2 separate regions of the Homo sapiens genome follow, and region 2 is linked to region 1. The links are contacts of gene promoters, found by promoter capture Hi-C in human tissues and cell types (Jung and others, 2019). All regions are on one chromosome and are shown on one strand. The core of a region is centred on a gene start or on the middle of the fragment in contact, and the rest is flanking DNA. Distances in the headings are between cores, read along the strand shown.

Region 1 (5,053 bases), core at 1,252-3,751:
ATGGCGCGATCTCGGCTCACTGCAACCTCTGCCTCCTGGGTTCAAGCGATTCTCATGCCTCAGCCTCCCAAGTAGCTGGGATACAACTGCACCCACCATGCCTGGCTAATTTTTGTATTTTTAGTAGATGGGGGTTTCATTATGTTGGCCAGGCTGGTCTTGAACTCCTGACCTCAGTGATCAGCCCACCTCAGCCTCCCAAATTGCTAGGATTACAGGCATGAGCCACCGCGCCTGGCCAATATATATTTTTCTTTAAATGGTACTGTTGGATGTAGATATGAGAGAAATAGCCTGTATCTCCAGTACCATTTAAAGAAAGAAATATGTCCCTGTGTATTCTATTAGTAATGACAATCACTTTTGTCTATAATCAGACTTCTGAGCCTATTCCAAGGCCCATTTGTGTACTTCCTTGTAAAATCCAGTTTTAGCAAAGAACCCTACTAAGTCAGTTTGGCAAGGACCCCTCACCCTAGCTATCTGATCACTGTTGGATTCTGATCAGATTCCTCATCCTCCACCATCCCCCAGGCAACATCTGATCACCCGGGCCTGTCTTCAGCTACAATTCTGTTAGGCTGGTTTAGCCAGAATCCACTTTACCCCTGATGTTTCCTCCGAGTAATTTTCTGTCTACCGACAGCCACACTGCTCCTTGGCCATAAATTCCCACTTGTCCATGCTGGATTCAGAGTTGAGTCCAGTCTCTTTTCTGTGCCGCAAGAGCTCATTGCAGTGGTCCCTGTACCTTTGTGATGATCCTGAATAAAGTCTTCCCAACCATAATTTAACAAGTGACATTGAGTAATTTTTTTCTTTAACAAGAGACATTTGGATTTTAATTTCTGTTACAGGTATAATAAAAGGTTCAGTGGTCCCTACTTTACAAAGAGGAACATACATAAAGATAGGAGGTTTCTAGTGATTTCTGTTCAGGATTGCTTTCTAAACTGGGCATAAACAAGTTCCTTCAGCTAGGTCTCTTTGATACTGTGGCCTGGAATTTGTTTTTCTTTTTCTTTTTTTTTTTTTTTTTGAGATGGAGTTTTGCTCTTGTTGCCCAGGCTGGAGTGCAATGGCACAATCTCAGCTCACTGCAACCTCCACCACCCGGGTTCAAGTGATTCTCCTGCCTCAGCCTCCCAAATAGCTGGGATTACAAGCATACGCCACCACACCTGGCTAATTTTGTATTTTTAGTAGAGACGGGGTTTCTTCGTGTTGGTCAGGCTGGTCTCGAACTCCCGACCTCAGGTGATTCACCTGCCTCCGCTTCCCAAAGTGCTGGGATTACAGGAGTGAGCCACTGTGCCCAGCCACTCTTTTTTCTTTTTTTTGGACAGAGTCTCACTCTATTGCCCAGGCTGGAGTGCAGTGGTGCAATCTCAGCTCACTGCAGCCTCTGCCTCCTGGGTTCAAGTGATTCTCCTGTCTCAGCCTCTCAAGTAGCCAGTATTACAGGCACACGCCACCACACCAGGTTAATTTTTGTATTTTTGGTAGAGATGGGGTTTTGCCGTGTTGGCCAGGCTGGTCTCAAACTCCTGACCTCAAGTGATTCACCTGCCTCAGCCTCCCAAAGTGTTGGGATTACAGGCATGAGCCACCATGCCCAGCCTGGAATTTCATGTTTAACTTAGACTCTGGAAATTCCAAATGAGTTTTAACACAAACAAATTATTTGAGAAATTCAGGTCTCTGTTTCTTTACCTATGAAATGGTGACTGCTTATGCTTGCCTTGATAGACTACTAGGATGAAAGGAAATGACGAATATTGAAGTCCTTCACAAATCTAACAAAATGTGAAATATGATTGTATTTATAGTTTACGTATTGCAAGCAGATGCTGCAGAATAAGTGTTTCAGATTGAAATTTCTTGAAGAACCCCTAGCCTTTTCCATACCAAATAAACAGATCTCTGGAGGACAGGACCTCTGACATTTGTACCTTCTTTCCATCCCTCTGTACCCCTGTACTTCCTGCAGCCCTTCCCTTCACCACCACCATGTCCCTCCTGCTGCTGCAGAGTCTGCTTGCAGGGCCTTTACACCAGGGAGAGCAGGCAGATGGAGGAGCATGGACAGATACATTCCTCTCCTGGCAGTGTCCATTACTTCTCATTCTACTCATTGAGACTCCAAAGTCAGAGTGAAATACTGAGGGATATGAATTCCTGTACTGTGTGGCAGCCATTGCCACATTCAACATACGATGTCAGATGTGTGCAAGATGAGGCTACTCACGAGACACAGAGGCACAGGACTCCTGGTATCGACTCGCTGTCTCTTAAAAGAAAGTTGCCATCCACCCCTTCCTTGAGCAGCAAGGTCTCACAGTCTTGCTTGGTCAGACGTCCATGGTAGTAAGGCAGATCCATGGAGAACGCTCTTGTATCCCAGGAAGCCCTGTTGGCCTGAAATTCACCCCCAAGTCAAGGGACAGCTCTGAGGAGAGATGTGTAAGCAGCTGTACCTCCTGTGGAGCTACCTCTTCCTCTAGCGGTCTGTGGGACTCAGCCAGCTTCACAAGATTCAGGAAATGAGGAGGGCGGGGTGATAAAATGACCAACACTTTTCACCCTCTAAATGGCCCACATGTGACTCACAGAAGTAGGTAAAGCACATTTAAACACACAATGGAATCAGTGATGCTCATGGCTAGGGAGGCAATGCTGAAGTCAAGCTTCCTGGAACTGTGTTGCAGCCTTGTATATTACCATGGACTATCATCAACTTCTTTGGCTACTGGTATCCTTTCCAGGAAGCACACCGCTGCTTTTGCTGTAATGGTACCCATTTTCTGCTGAAGTTGCCTAGGATTGGGCTATGCTTAGCTTAGACTGGGTGCTCAAAAACCATTTGGATGCTGAGAGAATTGATATGCTCAGATACAATGGGAAAATTGAAAGGGTGGGATTTCCGTGGATCAAATGACACTAAAAATGGAAGACATTAATGGCAATAAAAAACAGTGGGACACTGTGGATGAGGACAGCCCATTCCATGGCTAAGGCTCCCAGCCACTGGTGAAAAAAGGCCATTTGAACACCCTCAAGCATTGTTCCTTTTGGAGAAAGGGCTGGTGTAGGTGGGAGGGATATCTGGGTATACTCATATATCTACAGAAAATCACTATATATATCTCAAAAATGTTATCTATGAAAATAGAACTATGTGCTAACGATTCATCTTTACTTCTCTTAACTTCTTCTTTTTTTTGTTTTCTTCATCTCCGTAGTACCTGGAGATCTTAACTTCTTCTTAACCTAGATGTTTATTTCACCTTGCTACTTTGCTTACCAGCTGTTTACTCACAGTTGGGTGTATCTTCTATGGAACTTCCTTGTAACAGATCTTTGTTCTTCCTTGGAATTCCCACTCTGCATTTGGCATAGTGCAGTTTCACTGATCAGGGAACTCGTTATCAGACAGATATGCTCTCAAATAGCAACTTTTCTTCTGTGGTTTTGGACAATTCATTATTCAATTCTCTGGAAACTATGGCAGTTGAAGACAGAGTTGTTAATAATGAAAGAAGAAATTTGGTATTTCTTGTGAATAAATTCACAATCGTGGTGTAAAGATGCTTTTTGACATAAGAGAGGAAATAACTGAAAGCATGCTCAGGCTCTTGGTCATCACAGGGGCTTCCTTGCCCTTTTTGCTGTTTCAAAATCCAACCCTCACAATAAAAGAAATGCAAATTACCTGCATGCTGAGATAACAACTCTCACCTATCATATGGGTGAAAATCAAAAGTTTGAAAGCTTATTGGGTTGGTCATGGTGAAAGAAAATAGAATATCTTGTATATCATTAGTTGGAATAAAAAATAGTTACAACTATAGTAAAAGATGGTTTGGCAATATCTTGCAAATTTATGTATGCCTTCACCATCTGATAGAACAATCTCAGTTCTAGAAATCTGTCACAAAACTACACAGGCAGAATTAGAAAATGACTTGTGAATAAGGTAGTATTTTTTAATAGAAAAAGATTACAAACAACTCAAAGACTTGTGAATAGAGGGACAGGTGAATAAACTGTGATTCATGTATACAATGGAATATTACTATAGAATAATAAAATGGGATTGAGGAAGATCTCTATATGCTGATATGCAATAATCTTCAGGATGTATTTTTAGGTGAAAGCAGCAAGATGCACAATAGTATATAGAGTATGGGGGATATAAATAAATATATACATTTATAATATTTGCTCATATTTAAAAAACAAACGAAACACCCACTGGAAGAACAAAACTAAAACTAATTAAAACTAAAAACTTCTGCCTCTAAGAGGAGAGCGGAAACATGCATAGAGGTGAGACTTCTCTCAGTAAAACTTGCTGTAGAGTTGTTGGTTTTTTGTTTTGTTTTGTTTTGAGACAGAATCTCACTCTGTTACCCAGTCTGGAGTGCAGTGGTGTGATCTCGGCTTACTGCAACCTCTGCCTCCCTGGTTCAAGCAATTCTCCCACATCAGCCTCCCAAGTAGCTGGGACTACAGGCACGTGCCACCATGACTAGCTAATTTTTGTATTTTTAGTAGAGACAGGGTTTCACCATGTGGCCCAGGCTGGTCTCAAACTCCTCACTTCAAGTGATCTGCCTGCCTCGGCCTCCCAAAGTGCTGGGATTACAGATGTGACCCACTGCGCCCAGCCTGCTGTGGAGTTTTGAATGTAGAATCATGTAATTGTTTTTTTGTTTTGTTTTGTTTTGTTTTGAGACAGAGTCTCACTCTGTCGCTCAGGCTGGAGTGCAGTGGTGCGATCTCGGCTCACTGCAAGCTCTGCCTCCTGGGTTCATGCCATTCTCTTGCCTCAGCCTCCCGAATAGCTGGGACTACAGGCCCCTGCCACCACGCCCAGCTAATTTTTTGTATTTTTAGTAGAGACGGGGTTTCACCATGTTAGTCAGGATGGTCCCAATCTCCTGACCTCGTGATCCACCCACCTCGGCCTCCCAAAGTGCTGGGATTACAGGCGTGAGCCACAGCGCCCGGCCATAATTGTTTTACACATTGAAAATAAACAAGTAAAAGG
Region 2 (5,053 bases), core at 900-3,399, 54 kb before region 1:
CCTTGTGTATGTCTGAAGAAGTCCCCACAGCAGAACTGCCAGAAACAAAATGTCTTTCCCTGCCATGGAATTCTATGAATCGTAGAAGCCATCTTGGTAAAAATGTCCACAGGAGAGGGAGACAGAAGGAAAGGAGGGAAGGACACAGGAACTTCTTTCATCTAAGAGGATCTCTCCAGATCATTATATATTTTAGGATCCAAACTTCTTTGCCGATGGTTCTCACCAGAGGCAGTGGAGGGCAGGAGGTAGCCCCCTCACATGGCCCCTTCCTCCAGGACCCAGCTCCACGCTTCTCCCAACAAGGGAGAAGGAACATCTCAGACCCTGGAGGAGGGAGCCCTAAGGACACAGCAGAGTAGAGGATTGAAGCTGGGTCCTTCCTGTTATCATGGTAGGGTGGATGGAAGCTACGTTTTCCTAAAATAGATTCTTCTAAGTCTAGAACCTCAAGGAACTCAGTGACAGGGTATCATTGGAAGTGGTGGGCAAGAGATGGAGCAGTATCAGCCATCAGTCTCCCATCGGGGTCAGTTACCGAGGTGTCCCCCTAGTCCCCCTACGATTTTCTGACTGTGTGGTATCAGCCCAGGCAGCTACACCATTTCCTTTCTGGGCCTCTACTCCCATTTCCATTGAAGATATAGTGCTGTCAGCTTATGGGTTGTAAGTGTGCCAATTTGCTCCTCCTGAGTGCATGCCAAAGAGAGGGAGGCCCCTCAAGATGGCTCCTGCCACATGTCATGTCCTGTCTTCTCCTTCTCCTCCAGGTTTCGCACCCCCAGGAGCCCATGCTGACAGCCTCACCCAGGATGCTGCTCCCTTCTTCTTCCTCGAAGCCTCCAGGCCTGGGCACAGAGACACCGCTGTCCACTCACCACCAGATGCAGCTCCTCCAGCAGCTCCTCCAGCAGCAGCAGCAGCAGACACAAGTGGCTGTGGCCCAGGTTCTCCTCAGCCTCCTCCCTACTTCGCAGGCTCCACTCTCATGGGCTTGATGCACCTTCCCTAGCGAGGGGCTCAGGGCAGGTTTAAAATCTAGGGAGTCATAAGGAATCGCTCATGCTATTGGATCATTGCTTGTTGGGGAGTGGGGGCAGCGGGAGGGGGATAGATGGGGGATGCAGTTGAAATGGAGAGGCACATTTTGGTTTCCCATGTATCCCCTGCTCTGAGCTGGGCTTGGCTGGCTTGGCTGAATGTTGTTAATGACTTGAACTGACCAAGGGAAAAGATGCACACAATTCCACCCTTCCTTTCCTGCCTTACTTTCCTGATATTTGGGGTGGAAAGTGATGCCTTTGGAGTCAGAACAGTTGTGGCTTTATGATACCACTCTTAAAACAGCTTAAAGTATGAATTTGTGCCAAACACTGTTGTAAAAAGATTACTACCCTAGCATCCCAGTCTCCGTGTCTATAACAGGTTTCCCAGCCTTCATTACGATCTACTTATTCCAGGCAGTATTTGATTGGAATTCATTATTGTAGGATTTAACTTACAGGAATTTAGGTGTATTATTTGAGCCATAATGAAAAGAATTGGCTTAGATCTCAGAATCAAGGTGGTGTTTGTACCCCAAAAAACTTGTTCGGGGGCTGCTACATTATAGGGGAGGGTGAGCTGATTTCCCTTGCTGCTTTCAGCAGGGATTCTTCTTGTTTGCTTTCTATAGAGGGCGCTGTAGTCCACATCTTTCTTGGGAAGTCTGAGCTCCCTCTCTACCACCAGCACTCAGGGAATGGTGAAGACATTCATTCATACCCAAGGCTGAATCCTGAGGCGAGAGGCAGGGTCAGGGCCTGATGAGTGCATGAAGATCTTAGGAGACGGGGCAGTTGGGGCTTGGAAGAATTGGTAAAGGATCTGGAAAGGCAGCCTGCATCAACATTCTAAATCTGCTTGACCAGACTGTTGACCACTTAGGTTTTCTGCATTCTAGAATGGCGGGGAGCAGACTTCTCCAGGGAGCACTTATTGCTCTCTGTTATGTCTTCTGCTTACTCTTGTCCTGGCTCTTGAGTGGACTGAATCATCCAGCCAGAGATATCCTTTCCACCTTTCCACCTTGAGGAGGCATCCGGCGTCCTGGCCATAACAGGATCTGCTATGACTCAGGGTTTGAAGAAGACCTTCTTGTAACACGGTCTCTCCTGACCTGGGCCTGAGATGCAAGGCTCATGGATGACTTTTGCAGCCAGGTTTCAGGAGAGTAGAGTCAATGGGACACAGCTCTCAAGTTATCGGAGTCTTTTTAAAAAGTCTTACCATGAAACAAAAGGATATCTCGTGATGCTAGGAGGATTTGCAGGTGTTCCCAAAACAGCAACAGAGAGGGGGAATGTCATTAATGGCTTCTTATATTTGGAGAAAAAAAATCATTTCTCTTTGTCAAATAAAAGAATCCATCTCCTGTAGTTAATGATGGCACAGCAGTCTGAGAATCCCCTCCCTAGTGTGACAGTTGACAGGAGCACAAAGACTAAGCACTGCAGCACGGGTCCATTCTCAGACTCATTTCATTTCCACAAGTTTCCCATTGAATACAGAACATAATACTTTTATTTTGCAGCGTATCAATTGCCAAGTAATTATTATTTATCTAAGAGTGGGCTTGATGCATATTCATGATATGATTTTATCAGGGAGGCATTTGAATTCGAAGTCACTGCTAAGTACTAGAGAGAAACTATTTGCAAATGTGTAATCCACACAATAGTGTTGTGGCGGTGGAAGGAAGCATTCAATCTCCAAAGCAACAAGACATGTAACTTATCACAGGTCTACTACAGTCAGGATGAAACCTTAAGAGTAGTTTTCTGGTATAGAATCAATTGTCAGTCTCCATGGGAAATCCTGCCCTGGCCCTGTTTTAATTGTGTCTCTCCTAGAAGACAATGAATCTAGGGGAAGGAAAGGGTGTGGTATTAGAGATTTGCTTCATGAGCCTCTCTCGGTTCCACATGTCCACAGGCTGAGCACCCTTAGCCTCTCACTCACTTGGAATCTGTTGAATATAGTTGCCCTGCTTGACTCTCAATACAAGCAGTGTGGTGATCAAAAGGCCACCATACTGCATCTGTGTCCCACATTTGTGAGATGACTTTAGGGAGAGTCTTAGGCTTCCAAAATCATCAGATAGGACGTTGGGGTCATCTGATAGGTTCTTGAACATACTCCTGTACCTCTGTCTGCCATGCCCATCTGTCTCTGACTACCTTCTTTCTGTTCGCATCTTGCTTTTGCTGTCCAGGACCACAGCAGGGATATTGTACATTTCAGCTGGCTTTCAGCTCTCCTGTCCTGCAGACGGATTCGGTCCTAAACTGACCTTCAGTTAGAGGTTTCTCCGCACACTGTTCATTCTTCCACTTTCTTTGTAGTGTTTAATTCAAGGGCTTTTTTACTAGTGTCTATATCCTTGGGTAAAAACAATTACGTAAGATGTAGCTGGATTAATAGGTGGGTCTTCTTGGCATCTTTCACACATTTGAAATAGACCAAGTATAGCAAGCTTGGTTTCTCTACGCGGGGGGGGGCTGATTTCAGTTTCCAGCACGAGGTCAGCTCTTACTTGTTCTGTCAGACTCTATTGCCACCAAACTGCAAGGCTTCTGTCTGTCTTTATTAAACTACCAGCAGTCCCCAGAATTCCAGTGAGTAAAACTATGACCTCAGCCTTTCAGGTGGGAATAGTTTCCTTCTCTCGGAGAGCATCCAAATCCTCCTATGTTGTTCCTGGATAAAAATCTAAGGATAAAGACAGTTTCTTGCAGACAAGTGTACCCTTGATGTCACTTGTTGCACTATTTATGTCGTCCCCCCCCCACCACCCCCATTTCTTCCCACAGACTAGTCTAGTTCTGCTGTTGCCATGGGGACCAGGCTTAGGTTTCCTTCACAGTGTCCTGATTTGGTCTAAGACCGCAAGACCTCTCCCAGCCTCACCCTAAATTGGTTCTGAGCTGGTCTCAAAGGGGCCCGCCCTGACCTTAAAGGTATATGGGCAAAGGTGGTATTCAACCAACTCTTAAGTATTTCCGGGTTAGACCTCAGTGGGTAAGTAGTGAATACCCAAGTCCCTCTGACCGCTCTTCCGACCCAGCATGAGGCTTGCCTGGCTGCACTAGCTTCCTGCTTTTAGGTGGACCAGAAGTTCAAGGGTGTGAATGAGAGTATAGCTAAGCCTCGAAGCGAAGCTGGGATGTAGCTGGCACCTGCATGGCCATGGGCTGGGCCGACATAGTCTCAGAACTGATCTGGGCACTGTGGCTGATTGGCAAGTGTTAAGTAGGCCAGGTCTATTCACAGTTTGCCAATTCCCAGCCTTTTTCCTGAGGAAAGTGTTAGTACAGTTCAGTATTGCTATTTAAAGATTTCTCCTCTACCTGCTGCCACTTCTGTTTGTTCAGGAACAAGGAATTGGTTATTTATGCTTCGCAATCATGTATGCTGTAGTTAGAGGAACAGTGCTAACAAAACTCCGCATCCCCACCCCAGGCCCTCTATTTAGCATATGTCCCTGTGGCTTCTCCCAGTCCCCAGCACGCTGGCATGCACTGCCCAAGTCCCTGCCATGTGCATGCTGAGACAGCGGCGCCTGCCTCTGCTTCTGTGTCCAGTGTGTGGTGGGGCAAATTGCTCTGGTTCTCTCCACTGCCATTTCCATGTGCCTGCTACTCCCTAACTTCAGCCTGGCCCTGCCCTCACTTCTGATGGAGGAGCTGGAGTCCAGGCAAGTAAGCTGGAGAGTGAGGGCGCCAATGGTCTGGTGTGGCTGGGTGGGTTGAGGGTGGGTTTCAGAGTTTGGGAAAGCAGTGTAGAGCTGGAGGGTGCAGGGCTGAACTTTTGTGTGTCATGATGAGGCCAGAGTGCAGAGCTGGACATCTGAGCCCTGGCACTCGGGACGTGGCCGTAGTGTCACATCACTCTGTGCCACATCACTGACTTAGTATGTAAGTACAACATTCATTGCCAAAGACAACACAGTTCTGCAAAGGAGACACTAATTTGTACCTTTCCAGAAAGAAATATGGTCTACTTTTACAAAAGG

What was found. Contacts are between HindIII fragments. The study calls those that stand out against the background at their distance.
Region 2: a fragment that was not itself captured here is called in contact with the fragment with the promoter of SH2D1B in region 1 in 1 of the 25 tissues and cell types used here (H1 embryonic stem cells).

What each region holds. Positions count from the first base shown.
Region 1 is chr1:162,409,635-162,414,687 of GRCh38, forward strand. It overlaps SH2D1B (SH2 domain containing 1B), which reads right to left and starts at 2,502. Exons shown (of 4, transcript NM_053282.5): 1 at 2,249-2,502. The coding sequence starts at 2,382. The HindIII fragment of the contact is 14,665 bases long and covers 1-3,229 here.
Region 2 is chr1:162,356,190-162,361,242 of GRCh38, forward strand. NOS1AP (nitric oxide synthase 1 adaptor protein) reads left to right here. Exons shown (of 10, transcript NM_014697.3): 8 at 771-947. Among named protein-coding and RNA genes, the nearest start is that of MIR556, 16 kb to the left of the region's middle. RefSeq lists a silencer at 1,558-1,780. The HindIII fragment of the contact is 9,689 bases long and covers 1-5,053 here.